Linked DNA regions of Homo sapiens: regions 2 and 3 are each linked to region 1. Evidence: promoter capture Hi-C in 16 types of primary human blood cells and fetal thymus (Javierre and others, 2016). All regions are on one chromosome and are shown on one strand. The core of a region is centred on a gene start or on the middle of the fragment in contact, and the rest is flanking DNA. Distances in the headings are between cores, read along the strand shown.

What was found. The method cuts DNA at HindIII sites, captures the fragments that hold promoters and counts their contacts. A CHiCAGO score of 5 or more calls a contact.
Region 2: the fragment with the promoter of TIMELESS here is called in contact with the fragment with the promoter of R3HDM2 in region 1 in 5 of 17 cell types (monocytes, fetal thymus, non-activated CD4 T cells and 2 more); the score reaches 12.1 in monocytes.
Region 3: a contact is called between the fragment with the promoter of RBMS2 here and the fragment with the promoter of R3HDM2 in region 1, in 8 of 17 cell types (total B cells, naive CD8 T cells, activated CD4 T cells and 5 more). The highest score is 12.1, in total B cells.

The regions. Positions count from the first base shown.
Region 1 is chr12:57,428,731-57,432,759 of GRCh38, reverse strand. It overlaps R3HDM2 (R3H domain containing 2), which reads left to right and starts at 1,717. Exons shown (of 24, transcript NM_001394031.1): 1 at 1,717-2,040. R3HDM2-DT (R3HDM2 divergent transcript) reads right to left here and starts at 1,644. Exons shown (of 2, transcript NR_185976.1): 1 at 1,330-1,644. RefSeq lists a silencer at 1,816-2,285 and an enhancer at 2,466-2,575. The HindIII fragment of the contact is 10,065 bases long and covers 1-4,029 here.
Region 2 is chr12:56,447,279-56,451,307 of GRCh38, reverse strand. It overlaps TIMELESS (timeless circadian regulator), which reads left to right and starts at 1,882. Exons shown (of 29, transcript NM_003920.5): 1 at 1,882-1,998. It overlaps MIP (major intrinsic protein of lens fiber), which reads left to right. Exons shown (of 4, transcript NM_012064.4): 4 at 1-1,806. The coding sequence ends at 28. RefSeq lists enhancers at 2,139-2,228, 2,339-2,458, 2,481-3,001. The HindIII fragment of the contact is 959 bases long and covers 1,541-2,499 here.
Region 3 is chr12:56,519,872-56,523,900 of GRCh38, reverse strand. It overlaps RBMS2 (RNA binding motif single stranded interacting protein 2), which reads right to left and starts at 2,081. Exons shown (of 14, transcript NM_002898.4): 1 at 1,812-2,081. The coding sequence starts at 1,877. RefSeq lists an enhancer at 903-1,646. The HindIII fragment of the contact is 765 bases long and covers 1,570-2,334 here.

The sequences.
Region 1 (4,029 bases), core at 468-2,967:
CCACTGCACTCCAGCCTGGGCGACAGAGCAAGACTCCGTCTCAAAAAAAATAAAAAAAAATCTGGAACTTTGGTTTCATTATTGTGCCTCAGGTTTCCTCATCTATAAAACAGGTATAATAATAGTACCTATTGTATTGAGGATTTGATACTAACAATAGATGTAGAATGCTACACATTTTATATTGTACTTACATACACATAATACAAATATTAGCTATTATTTCCTACTGGTCATCACTGCCTGGTCTGGAACTCCTGAGCTCAAATGATCCACCTGCCTTGGCCTCCCAAAGTGCTAGGTGTGAGCCACTGCGCCCGGCCAAGACAAAAAGTTTAAATCGTGGTGAAAAGTGGCAGGTTAGATCAGTTCAGTTCAGTTGTATTTTTCTTCCCCCGTTGTTGTTCTCTAGAGGGTTGAGAGAATTTGGGGGCAGGAGGCAGTGATGACCAGGAGAGAGGGCTGGGCAAGGTGGCTCACACCTGTAATCCCAGAACTTTGGAAGGCCGAGGCGGGTGGATCACCTGAGGCCAGGAGTTCGAGATTAGCCTGGCCAACATGGCAAAACCCCGTCTCTACTAAAAATACAAAAAATAGCCGGGTGTGATGGTGCGTGCCTGTAGTCCCAGCTACTCCGGACGCTGAGGCAGGAGAATCACTTGAACCTGAGAGGTGAAGGTTGTAGTGAACCGACATTGCACCACTGCAATCTAGTTGCCTGGGTGACAAAGCGAGACCCCATCTCAAAATAAATAAAACAAACAAACAAACAAACAAAAAACGCCAACCAACCTGGAACTTGCTCATCCTTGAAGGAAAGATGAACTTCATGCCTCTATGACTTTGCTGGAATCTCCATTCTTACCTCTCTAGTGAACTATTTATAGTCTCAAGATTAGCTGGAGTTTCACCTGTAGTTTCTCTGTAACTTACTCAATCTCTTTTACCGCTAAGAACGAATTGCTGTTCCTTGTGTTTCCATAGCACATTTAAACCTTTCTATTATAGCACTTAAATTGTACTATAATTATTTGACTTTTTTTGCCTACCGCAGTTTCTGTCACAAGGTAAATATTTAATGGTCGAATTCTACAAAAGACTACATTGCTTCTTTGAGGGAGTTTGGTCAGTAAATTATCCACACACACATAATCAATAACTAAATTGATTCTGCCTAGAATGGACAAAACGGGGGAGGCTGGACATTTAAGACGATTTTTGAGAACTGTATCTTAGAGAGGGGATGATGGTAAGAATGTGATCTTAATAGGACAGACTGAGTTCCTCCTAGGTCGGTTTTTTTCATCTTTACGTAAAATGGACATTTACCTGCTCAACTATAGTTATCCACGTATGCAACAAATACCGAGTGTACGTTCTTTTGGTACAGGAGTTACTGCCCTAAGTGAAAGTGCTCTGTAAATGGAAATTACTTTAGAATGATCACTATTAGTATTATATTGAAATCCAGGGTATTCTATCTGACAGACTTGAAGGGTTTAAGGAGGACCGAGGCTCCCAGTGACTCCGGATTGGTGTCCTGACACAGGTAACGCGGAAGGAGGAGAGGGCGAGCGAGCGAGTGCGAGTGCGCGCGCGCCGGCGGGAGTGCGTGCGGCAGGCGGTAGGCCCCGCAGGGCTGCTGAGGGGCACGCGGGAAGCCAGGAAGCAGGGACGGCCGGAACGCAGGACGAGGTGACGACAACGCCGGACGTAGTGACGTAGCGCGCAGCCGCAGCGGGGGGCGGACTCTGGGCTTTTCTTCCCCTTCTGATTTTCCCCTCCCCCCTTTTCTCCCTTTCCGGGTTTGGTTCCCCCCTTTTCTTCCCCTCTCCCCCCTCCTTCCCAAGCCCCTTTCCCCTCCCCCGTCCCAGTCCCCCCTGCTTCCCAGCCCTCGGCCCCGGGGAAGCCCCGGCCGAGAAAAGCCCGCCCCCAGAAGCGCGCCGCCGCCGGCCGTCGGGGCCGAGCCGCAGCCGAGCGGCCGTGGGCCCGGGCGGCGGGCGGAGACGTGGGCGCCCTCCCCGCCAAGGCCCGTGCGAGGTGAGGCCACCTCCCGGCCGAGGGGGCGGGCGGCCCGGACGGCCTGTGGGGAGGGGGCGTGGCGGCCGCACGGGCGGGCGCGAGGAGGCCCCGCGGCCTGGGTTCCTCGCGCCCGGCAGCCGGTCCCGGGGACGATGGGTCAGGGTCGGATGGCCGCGGGAAGGACTGCTCCAAGTGTGCGCTGCTGGAGAGAAGCTGGGGGCGCGGGGCGGAGGGCGGCGGTGCGGGGGCAGGGGGGTGGCGCCACCTGTGGCCTTTGCGGGGTGACCTAAAAACTATTGCGCCCTTCCAGTGCTTCGGGGTGGCTAGCTCCGTGTGTTTCTTGGGTGGCGGTTTTCCTTCGAGCGTGGAGCATGGAAAAATAGGACGGAGAGGTGTAGAAGTGTTTAAAATCATGCTGGTGTCCAGGTTTCTTACAGGGACGGGGATTTGAGTTGGCACATACAGGGAGATGTTTCTATAGCTTAAAACTTGGGCCTACACTAAGCTCATAACTACTCGAGCCCCTGAAAACGCTTCGATTCGTTTTCCCGTAGAGCTAACATTTTTCAACATTTGTGGCCATTAAGTCTCGGAACTACCAGGAATACTGACTTAGAGTGAATTGTCATTGGATAATGATGAGAAATGACCGAATAACAATCCCAGAACTGCGTTAAAACGGAAGAAAGAAAAGTGGAAAAGTTTGAATTCAGATCCCAGTTGGATGAATATCCTTGTACATAATGTTGTTCAAATAGATAACTAAGATTGAGAAGCCTGAGTCCTGTCTGATATGCGTAAGCCACGTGGAGACTCAAGGAAGGAGGAAAGTGACAGGTTTCACTTCAGGAATATCACAAATTCCTAGCATTTTCTTGTATTTTTAGATAGATTTGCAGTTGAATTATTTGTGGCTCTTCTTCCTAATGCTTTTTTTTGTTGTTGTTCCACCAATATTCCCCCCCCACCCCCGCCCCCCTTTTTGTTGCTGGGGTATCAAGACAAAAGGTTGTATTTTGTTTTTTGAGACAGGGTCTCAGTCTGTCACCCAGAATGGAGTGTAGTGGTTCCTTTTCGGCTCAATGCAACCTCTGCCTCCTGGCCTCAAGCCGTCCTCCTACCTCAGTCCCCCAAGTAGCTGGGAGTACAGGCATGAGCCACCACTCCTGGCTGATTTTTGTAGAGACGGGTTTCACCTTGCTGCCCAGGCTGGTCTGGAACTCCTGGGCTCAAGTGATCCACCTGCCTTGGCCTCCCAAAGTGGTAGGCTTGAGCCACCGCGCCGGGAAAGACAAAAAGTTTAAATAGTGGTGAAAAGTGGCCGGTTAGATTAATTCAGTTCAGTTTTTAGTTGTATTTTTCTTACCCTGTTGCTGTTCTCCAGAGAGTTGAGAGAAAAGATAACTTTTTTCTTGAAGGCCTGATGAACTCCTAACAAGTTAAATTTCAGAGTTGAAGTTCCATTTGTCTTTGTGTCCATTATATGATTAGTAGAGCTTCACAATTTTTTTTTCGTAGGGATGGGATCTTGCTATGTTGCCCAGGCTGGTTTTGAACTCCTGGCCTCAAGTGATCCTCTGGCCTCAGACTCCCAAAAGCACTGGGATTACAGGCGTGAGCCATTGCTCTTGGCAGAGCTTCACAATGTAAAGTTTTAAAAAAATTTGACAAATAAAAATAGCATGCCTGACTGGCCGGGCACGGTGGCTCATGCTGTAATCGCAGCACTTTGGGAGGCGAAGGCAGGTGGATCACCTGAGGTCAGGAGTTTGAGACCAGCCTGGCCAACATGGTGGAACCCCGTCTCTACTAAAAATACAAAAAGTAGCCAGGCGTGGTGGCAGGCACCTGTAATCTCAGCTTCTTGGCAGGCTGAGGTGGGAGAATCATTTGAACCCAGGAGGCGGATTTTGCAGTAAGCCAAGATCGTGCCACTGTACTCCAGCCTAGGCAACAGAGCGAGAGACTGTCTCAAAAAAAAAAAAAAAATAATAGCATGCCTAATAT
Region 2 (4,029 bases), core at 633-3,132, 980 kb after region 1:
TGTTGAACTGAACACCCAGGCCCTGTAGAAGCTCCAGCTGAATAGAGGGAGTAGAAAGCTTCTGAGTTTACGTGGAGGGGTTTAGCCAGCCCCTAGATGAAGAAAGAGACTGTGGGGAGGGTCATGTACTTCTTTATTTTTTAACTTATGTATGTGGTTGTTTTTTTTTTTTTTTTCCTTTTGCTGTGTGAAATCTTTCAAGTTGCATTCATGAGCTGGTTGGTGCAAACTTCCCTTCCTCCCCATCCCACCACCCTTCGCCGTGTGTGCTGATTGTGCATATGAATGTGAGTGTGGCTGTGTCTGAGTTTTGGGGCATGAGAGCTAAGGAAGCAAAAAGAGGTGCCATCCTATACCTCCCTTCCTCGACCCAGTATGGTGAGTACTGGGTAACCGACACCTTAAGTTTCTGGCCTTTACCCTGCTGCCAGTCAAGTGTGTGGCTCTTGATTTCTGAGGGAACAGAGAAGCAGGGAGTTACTCCTCACACGAGGCAGATGGAGAGAAGTGGAGGAGACAAGGCTTCCAAGGGTTAGGAGAAGGGACTCAAGGGAGGTGGGTGGTGAAAACGGAGTATTAGCCCCAGATCAGGATGTAGGTGTACCGAAGAATTGGGGGGAAGTTAATGGGAATATATAGCCTACTTATCTTAGGGATGCTTGCCCCAGGGACTTGGGTGGGGAAGTAGCTCTGAGAAAAGTGAACACTAGGATTTAGCTGTTCTGTAAAGCCACGTAAACCTGTCTACATCCGCTGGCTGGTTGTGTTCATTCTGACATAATGGATCTCTTCAGAGGTCCTGGGCCAAAGAGCTTCCAACCTAAATAGAGCTTGGGCAAGCCTAGAATCTAGAAAAATTAAGCAGCTTAACTGGTCAGCCTGACATCCACTGTTGTGGCTGCCTGGCAGATGGTATTTAAGCCCCACAATTGTTCCCTAAGGCCAACACAGGAAATCTGATTCCTGGAGCAAATAAATGAACGGGTGGTAGTAGGGGGCATGAGGGGAGAGGCTTTGACTCTGTTCTAATTTATTTAGAGCAAATCAAAACACTCCTCAAATGGCATCTTTCTGCTTTTATCACTAGTTCCGTGTTTTTTTTCTTGTTTTGTGTCTGTGTATTTTCATTTCTCTGTCATCCGTCCTTTCATCTTGAAGCAAATCTCTTCTAACTCCCTCATACCCCAGAAATTGATTCCTTCTATTCAAATGCTTAATAATTCAGGAGATTATTATTTGTTTGAGCCCTATCTTCTTTTTTTTTTTGAGAGGGGGTCTTACTATGTTGACCAGGTTGGAGTGCAATGGATATTCACAGGCACGATCATCGCACACTACAGTCTAGAAATCCTGGGCTCAAGCGATCTTCCTGCTTCAGCCTCCCCAGTAGCTGGGATTACAGGGGGCCAGAGCACAGCCCTATTTTCTTTTCCTTTTGGCAAGATCATCTCAGCAGAGGCCAGAAGAGACCCTCAACTGTTCAATGAATATTTACGGTTGCTTTCTTCCTTTTATGAGCCTCTTGCATACTTTGAAAGCTTTAAATTTATACCTATAATACAACGGACATCCCCTATCCCAGAAGACCATTCCTCCCTGTACTTCAGCTCTTTACTTCCTCCCAAATAAAACCTAACTTTTCTAACTAACTATTTAAGACTTGGAATAGTCCGCTTGACTAGAAGAAGGGGAAGAATGTTTGTAAATTCACCTCTAATCGGACTTTGATTCTACTATAATTCAGCAGAAAATTCATAGCGCTGTGATTTTTAGATCGACCTCACATAAAACAGTCCCTGCACTCGCTTCCCTTTTCCTTCCTTCTTCACCAATCTCCGCCCCAGTTCGCTCGGAGTCACGTGGACCAGCCCGGCTCGCCCCGCCTCGCTCTTCGCGCAGGCGGGGACCGGTCCAGCTGAGCCTGGTGGCGGAAAGGCTGCGGCCCCGCGCCAGAGGGCCGGTGGCTCCTCCGGGCTTCTGAGGACCCGCAGGGAGCGGGTGAGTGAGTGTGTGGCGAGAGGGCGCTAAGCGGACACGGGGATCCTTTCGAAGCTATGGGGGCATTCTCGGGAAACGCTGAGTCCCTTTTCCCGCCACCCGGTTTAGAGCCAGGGGGCGGGGCTCGTGCTGCAGGCGCGCACGCGCAATTCTGTACTCTGCTCCTTAGTCTCCCGCGCCGCGTTCCCGGGTCTCACCGGACGCGGGCTTAGCCCTACGCTGCTCCGCACAGCTTGGGTCTCCCGCGGGATGGGGTTGTGATGGAAAGGGGCTTGGAATTCCTGAATTAGAACAGAAAGTGCCTGAGGGAGTTCCACTTCGGAGCTTAGCATCTAGTTGAGACCTCCTGAAAAAAACCGGTGTGTGGCCTGGCGGTCAGCAGTGGTCGGAATTCACAGGCCGCTTTACTTATATCGTGGGTTTTATGGAACGGATTTCTCACTCCCTCCCTTCGTTGCCTTGTTCGGGTTTGTCACCTGGACCTCAGCCGCTAATGAAGCTTTTTTCCTTGAGCCTCTCAATTCTTTGCCATTCGTGCTTCGACTAGTACTTTCAATTTTTTATTTATTTTATTTTATTTTGAGACGGAGTCTCGTTCTGTCGCCCAGGATGGAGTGCAGTGGCGCCATCTCGGCTCACTGCAACCTCCGCCTCCCGGGTTCAAGCGATTCTCTTGCCTCAGCTTCCTGAGTAGCTGGGATTACAGGCGCGCGCCACCATGCCCGGCTAATTTTTGTATTTTTTTTAGTAGAGATGGGGGTTTCACCTTATTGGTCAGGATGATCTCAAACTCCTGACTTCGTGATCCGCCCGCCTCGGCCTCCCAAAGTGCTGGGATTATAGGCGTGAGCCACCGCGCCTGGCCTGTTTGTTTTTTTTGGTTGTTTTGTTTTGTTTTGTTTTTGAGATGGAGTCTGGCTCTGTCGCCCAGGCTGGAGTGCAGTGGTCCGATCTCGGCTCACTGCAACCTCCGCCTCCCCAGTTCAAGCGATTCTCCTGCCTCAGCCTCCCCAGGAGCTGGGATTACAGCTGCCCGCCACCACGCCCGGCTAATTTTTGTATTTTTAGTAGAGATGGGGTTTCACCATGTTGGCCAGGCCGGTCTCGAACTCCTGACCTCAAATGATCCGCCCGCGTCGGCCTCCCACAGTGCTGGGATTACGGGTGTGAGCCACCACACCCGGCCCTACTAGTACTTTGTACAAAGTAAAGGTAGATCATCTGATGTTAAATTTAAAACTCCTCTTTGACCACCCACAGTTAGCCTTAAATCCGTAGGTGGGTGTCTGTGGCCTCTCAGTCTGGCCCTGACCCTCTCAATCTCATTTTGTAAATCTCTTACGCACCTGACTCCTGGCCACGTGGAAAGATTGTGGCTGCCCTCTTTCATATCTCAGTACTTAGTTCCTGCTGTTCCTTCTGCTTGGAAGATCTTGACACTGCTCTGCCAAGCGAACTTCTCTTTGAAGACTGAGCTTAATTGTCCCTCTGAAAATCAATGTATCCAGCTTCCTATGCCAAGTTAGTCACTTCTTCCTGTGTGTCCCTGAAGTTTTTTACCCCCCTCTATTACCAGGGGCACTGATACAGCTCAATAAAAGATCAATAAAAGGTTACTGAGCTCCTAACATGTACCATGCACTGTGCTTAGCGCCAGGCTTACAGAGATGAGTAGGATGGAGAGTTCCCGACCCTTAAGGAACTCAAGTCCTAAGGAAAACACATGTAATTGAGTCTTCTGTGGTTACAGTGAAAGGGTCATCAAGAAGTCCTTCCTGGCTTCCTTCCTCCTCTCACTGCACTCACACCATCTTACATCCTGATGCCTCCAAATCTTTAGCTCCAAACTCTTCTCCCTCATCTTCCAGACTTCTCTGTTTCAGTTCAATTTAGTAAAGCATTTATTGAGCACTTACATTGTGCTGCGTAATGATGATTCCTGATGTGAAAGAGTTTACGTTTTCGTGCAGTTAACATAGGATAGTTAGAATCACCTGAGGAACATTGTCAAAACACTTGCCTAAGCCCCAT
Region 3 (4,029 bases), core at 832-3,331, 910 kb after region 1:
ATATTTCCCTTTCAAATATATACGTATAATATATAATGTATTATCTATACATATATTTGATAAAGGGATGTCAGTATATGTACATATAAACATATATTGATAACCAACAAATGTGTATAAACTCATATTTCATTTCTTTTTGAGATGGAGTCTTGCTCTGTCACCCAGGCTGGAGTGCAGTGGCACAATCCTGGCTCATTGCAACCTCTGTCCCCCAGGTTCAAGTGATTCTCCTGCTTCAGCCTCCTGAGTAGCTGGGATTACAGGCGCGTGCCACCAAGCCCAGCTAATTTGGGGTTTCACCATGTTGACCAGGCTGGTCTCGAACTCCTGACCTCAAGTGATCCACCCACCTTGGCCTCCCAAGTGCTGGGATTACAGGCATAAGCCACCATGCCCAGCCTCATTTCTTTTTTAAAGTAAATTTTATTGTGTATATTTAAGGTATACAACATGTTACGGGATACATATAGATAGTAGAAAGGTTACTATAGTGAAGTAAATTAATCATCCCACATAATTGTCCCTTTTGTTTCTTTTTGTGGCAAGAGGAGCTAAAGTCTGCTCATTTAGCATGAATCCCATATACAGTACAACTTTATCATCTATAGTCCTCATGTTGTACATTGGATCTCAGGATTTGTTCATCCTACATATCTACTACTTTGTATCCTCTGACCTATAGCTCCCCATTTCCTCTCCCCTCTACCCATATTTCTTCAGGATATAAACAAAATGAGTACCACACAGACTAAGCCCATAAATCAACATTAAGTGTTTTGGGTCTAAACATTTACCCACTGCATTGATCAGACACTTGTGTTTAAATCCACCTCTAATGGTCTCATTAGGTACATGAGAAAGCAGCAGGAATCGTTCCTCACCCTCCAACATTCCATTAGATGAGCAAAAGATTCCCTAAATGTCTATGTCACATTTTTTCTTCAAAGAACAGCTACAACACAAAGAGAGGGTAAAGAGTCTTCTTCCTGCTACAGCATGAAATTCCTCCTAATCAGTATGCTGTGCGCCCTGAAATGCCAGAAACTGCCAAATATATTCCTTGTCAAATATGGACAAGATTGTCCATCTCTCCCCATGTGCCCAAGGACAGCACAATTCTCTGGCAGCCATGGGTTAATCATAAAGACTCCTAGGATCACTGCAAAGTCTGGCTATCTGCAGAGGTCCAAGTATCAGTTCAAATACAAGATCCAAAGTATCACAGCGCTCTGTGCCTTAATCCCAAGGTGCGATGTCTCTCAAGACTCCTTCTCTATAGGCTGGGTGGGGTAGGATCTGTAGTCTAGAAGAGTATACCCAGCTCTTGATAAACTGTTGTGGTTTCTCTGACTATCTATGATTTCAGCTATCTAATACTACTGGTGGTATGGGTAGGAGGGAAGGTTGGGGAGAGAATGGAAACAGTTAATCAAAAAATAAAATAATCTTGTGGGGTGGGGTGGACTGGGGGACAGGGTCTGAAATGACATATTATCCTTGTGGAGATTGATACATCAGCAGGAAGTCAAACTAACTTCATTTCATAAGGATACAAACTTGCAAGCTTGATTTGTTTTTAATTCCCCTGTCTTTTCAGGCCTCGCAGAGACTGAAAGTTCCCTGAACTCCAGAACCAGTTGAGGAAAGATGCAGAAAGCAGTAGTGGAAAAGGGAGAAGCGCGGTGAGGAATTAGGAATCTTGAGAGAGGAAGCCCCTTCCCCTCTTTAAAAAGAATGTAAAAACCAAGGGCATTGCAAGATCCCCAGAAAAAGAAGTAGCTAGATACCAAAAAAGCGCTTTTCCCTACCTTCTTGTTGTTTCTATTGTAGCCAAAAGTCGAAATCCCGGGCCTGGAAGTCACGGATAGCAGCATTTTCTCTTTAATGTTAGGGAACGAGCGAGAGAGAGAGAGAGAGAGAAAGGGAGGGGGTAAGAAAGACGGGGAGGGAGGGAGGAGGGGAGCGAGGGAAAGGGGGAGAGGGAGGGAGGAAAAAAGGGAGGGGGAGGAGAAAGGAGGAGAAAAGGAGCAGGAGGAGAGAGATGAAGGGGGGCTGCGGGCAGAGAATGAGCTCGGGCTGCTCCTTTACGTCACTGAGAGAAGTTAACAGAGTCTGAATGAGGCAGAGGCACTTCCACTGGGTCCTAATGCCCAAGATGTTTTTTTTTGTTTGTTTTTCATAGTCTCAGGAGTTAAAGCTAGAAAGAAGAGTTCTTAGGTCTAACCCCTTTCAAATTTATCCCCTTTCCTCTATGAACAAGTTCCGATTCTCATATAAAGACAATGAGGGCTTTATTTCCACCCTTAGATCTCAGCTATAAGATTTCAAGCTTGATTTTAAAGGGGCTCCTGAGACATTGCCTTGGAGAACACGCAAAAAAAAAAAAAAAAAAAAACAGAGTTAGAGTGTGTGAGATAAGCTCAGGGCTTCCCCTACTTTACACTTACAGTGATTTTTTTTTTTTTTTTTTGAGACAGAGTTTTAGTCTGTCACCCAGGCTGAAGTGCAGTGGTGCAATCCCGGATCCGGCTCACTGCAACCTCCACCTTCCGCAATTCTCCTGCCTCAGCCTCTCGAGTAGCTGGGATTACAGGTGACCACCACCACACCCAGCTGATTTTTGTATTTTTTAGTAGGGACGGGGTTTCGCCATCTTGGCCAGGCTGGTCTCGAACTCCTGACCTCAAGTGATCCACCCACTCAACCTCCCAAAGTGCTGGGATTACAGGCATGAGCCACCACCCCTGGCCCATTTATAGTGATCTTAATGTACAAAGGAACAAACAGAGGAACACACCAAAGAGCAGAGCTAAGCAAAACAGAGTATGGGGTATAACTAGTTTCAGATCCTTAGATGTGTTTCTCTTGGGTCATACCAATGGGCTGATGCCCCTCACTCCTATTTCAGATTCTCCGAGGAATGAGTTCATACTTAAGAAGGAATTATCAGACTGGACTATATCATGAAACTTGGTGCCTTGTTATTTCTCTAACAATTGCAGGCTATCTTATTTAACACTTTACCCTGCTATTTCCTCATCTTTAAGATCCATGAAACTGAAACAATTACAGTAACTCACCAAACCTGGAGTTTATGTCTAAATTGAAGTCTACAGTTGGGATGTCTGCTTTGAGTTGTCTTTGAGCTGTTTAAAAAAAAAAAATACTTAAGAAGCATATGCTTCAACAGAATAAAAACACAAAATTCTTAGGAAGGAATACAAATTTCAGAGTCAAGAACCTAATAGAGTTGCAACACTTACCTCTACTAGTTTCCAAAGAATGTCTTTGTAGGCGTAACCTTAACAAGAAAGGAAACCAAAAACTTAAGAATGATATCCAGTAACCCCTACCAATCCAAGTGCAATAGGGATGTTAAATGAAAGCCTTCAAATCCCTTCATAAGGCCACCTTGCTGCCATCCTAAGTAGTTTCTTGAGATATAAATTAACCCTGTCTGTTTTGTGACAACAAATATTAAGCCCAAACCCTCCCTCAAATGAAGTTCTGGTCTCTATTCTAGTTTCCGTGTCACTTTTTTGCTATGATAATGGAACAGACAGTATTAGTATTCTGCAGAGTAAATATACATACCCTACCCCCAATCTCTAACTTTCATTTCCAATAGGACAGGAAGTGCCTGCTCAGCTCAGGGGACACAGGAAGGGTGGGAGAGCCTCAGTGTGGGAATTGCAACTGAGACTGGAAACACAGCAGCCAAATGCAGTAAATAAATAAATGAAGGCATCACTCAGTGATATCTTTTTTTTTTTCTGAGACAGAGTCTTGCTCTGTTGCCCAGGCTAGAGTGCAGTGGTGCTATCTTGGCTCACCGCAACCTCTGCGTCCCGGGTTCAAGCGATTCTCCTGCCTCAGCCTCCCGAGTAGCTGAGACTATAGGCATGCGCCACCATGCCCGGCTAATTTTTTTGTATTTTTAGTAGTCTTGTTGGCCAGACTGGTCTCAAACTCCCGACCTCAGGTGATCTGCCCGCCTTGGCCTCCCAAAGTGCTGGGATTACAGGA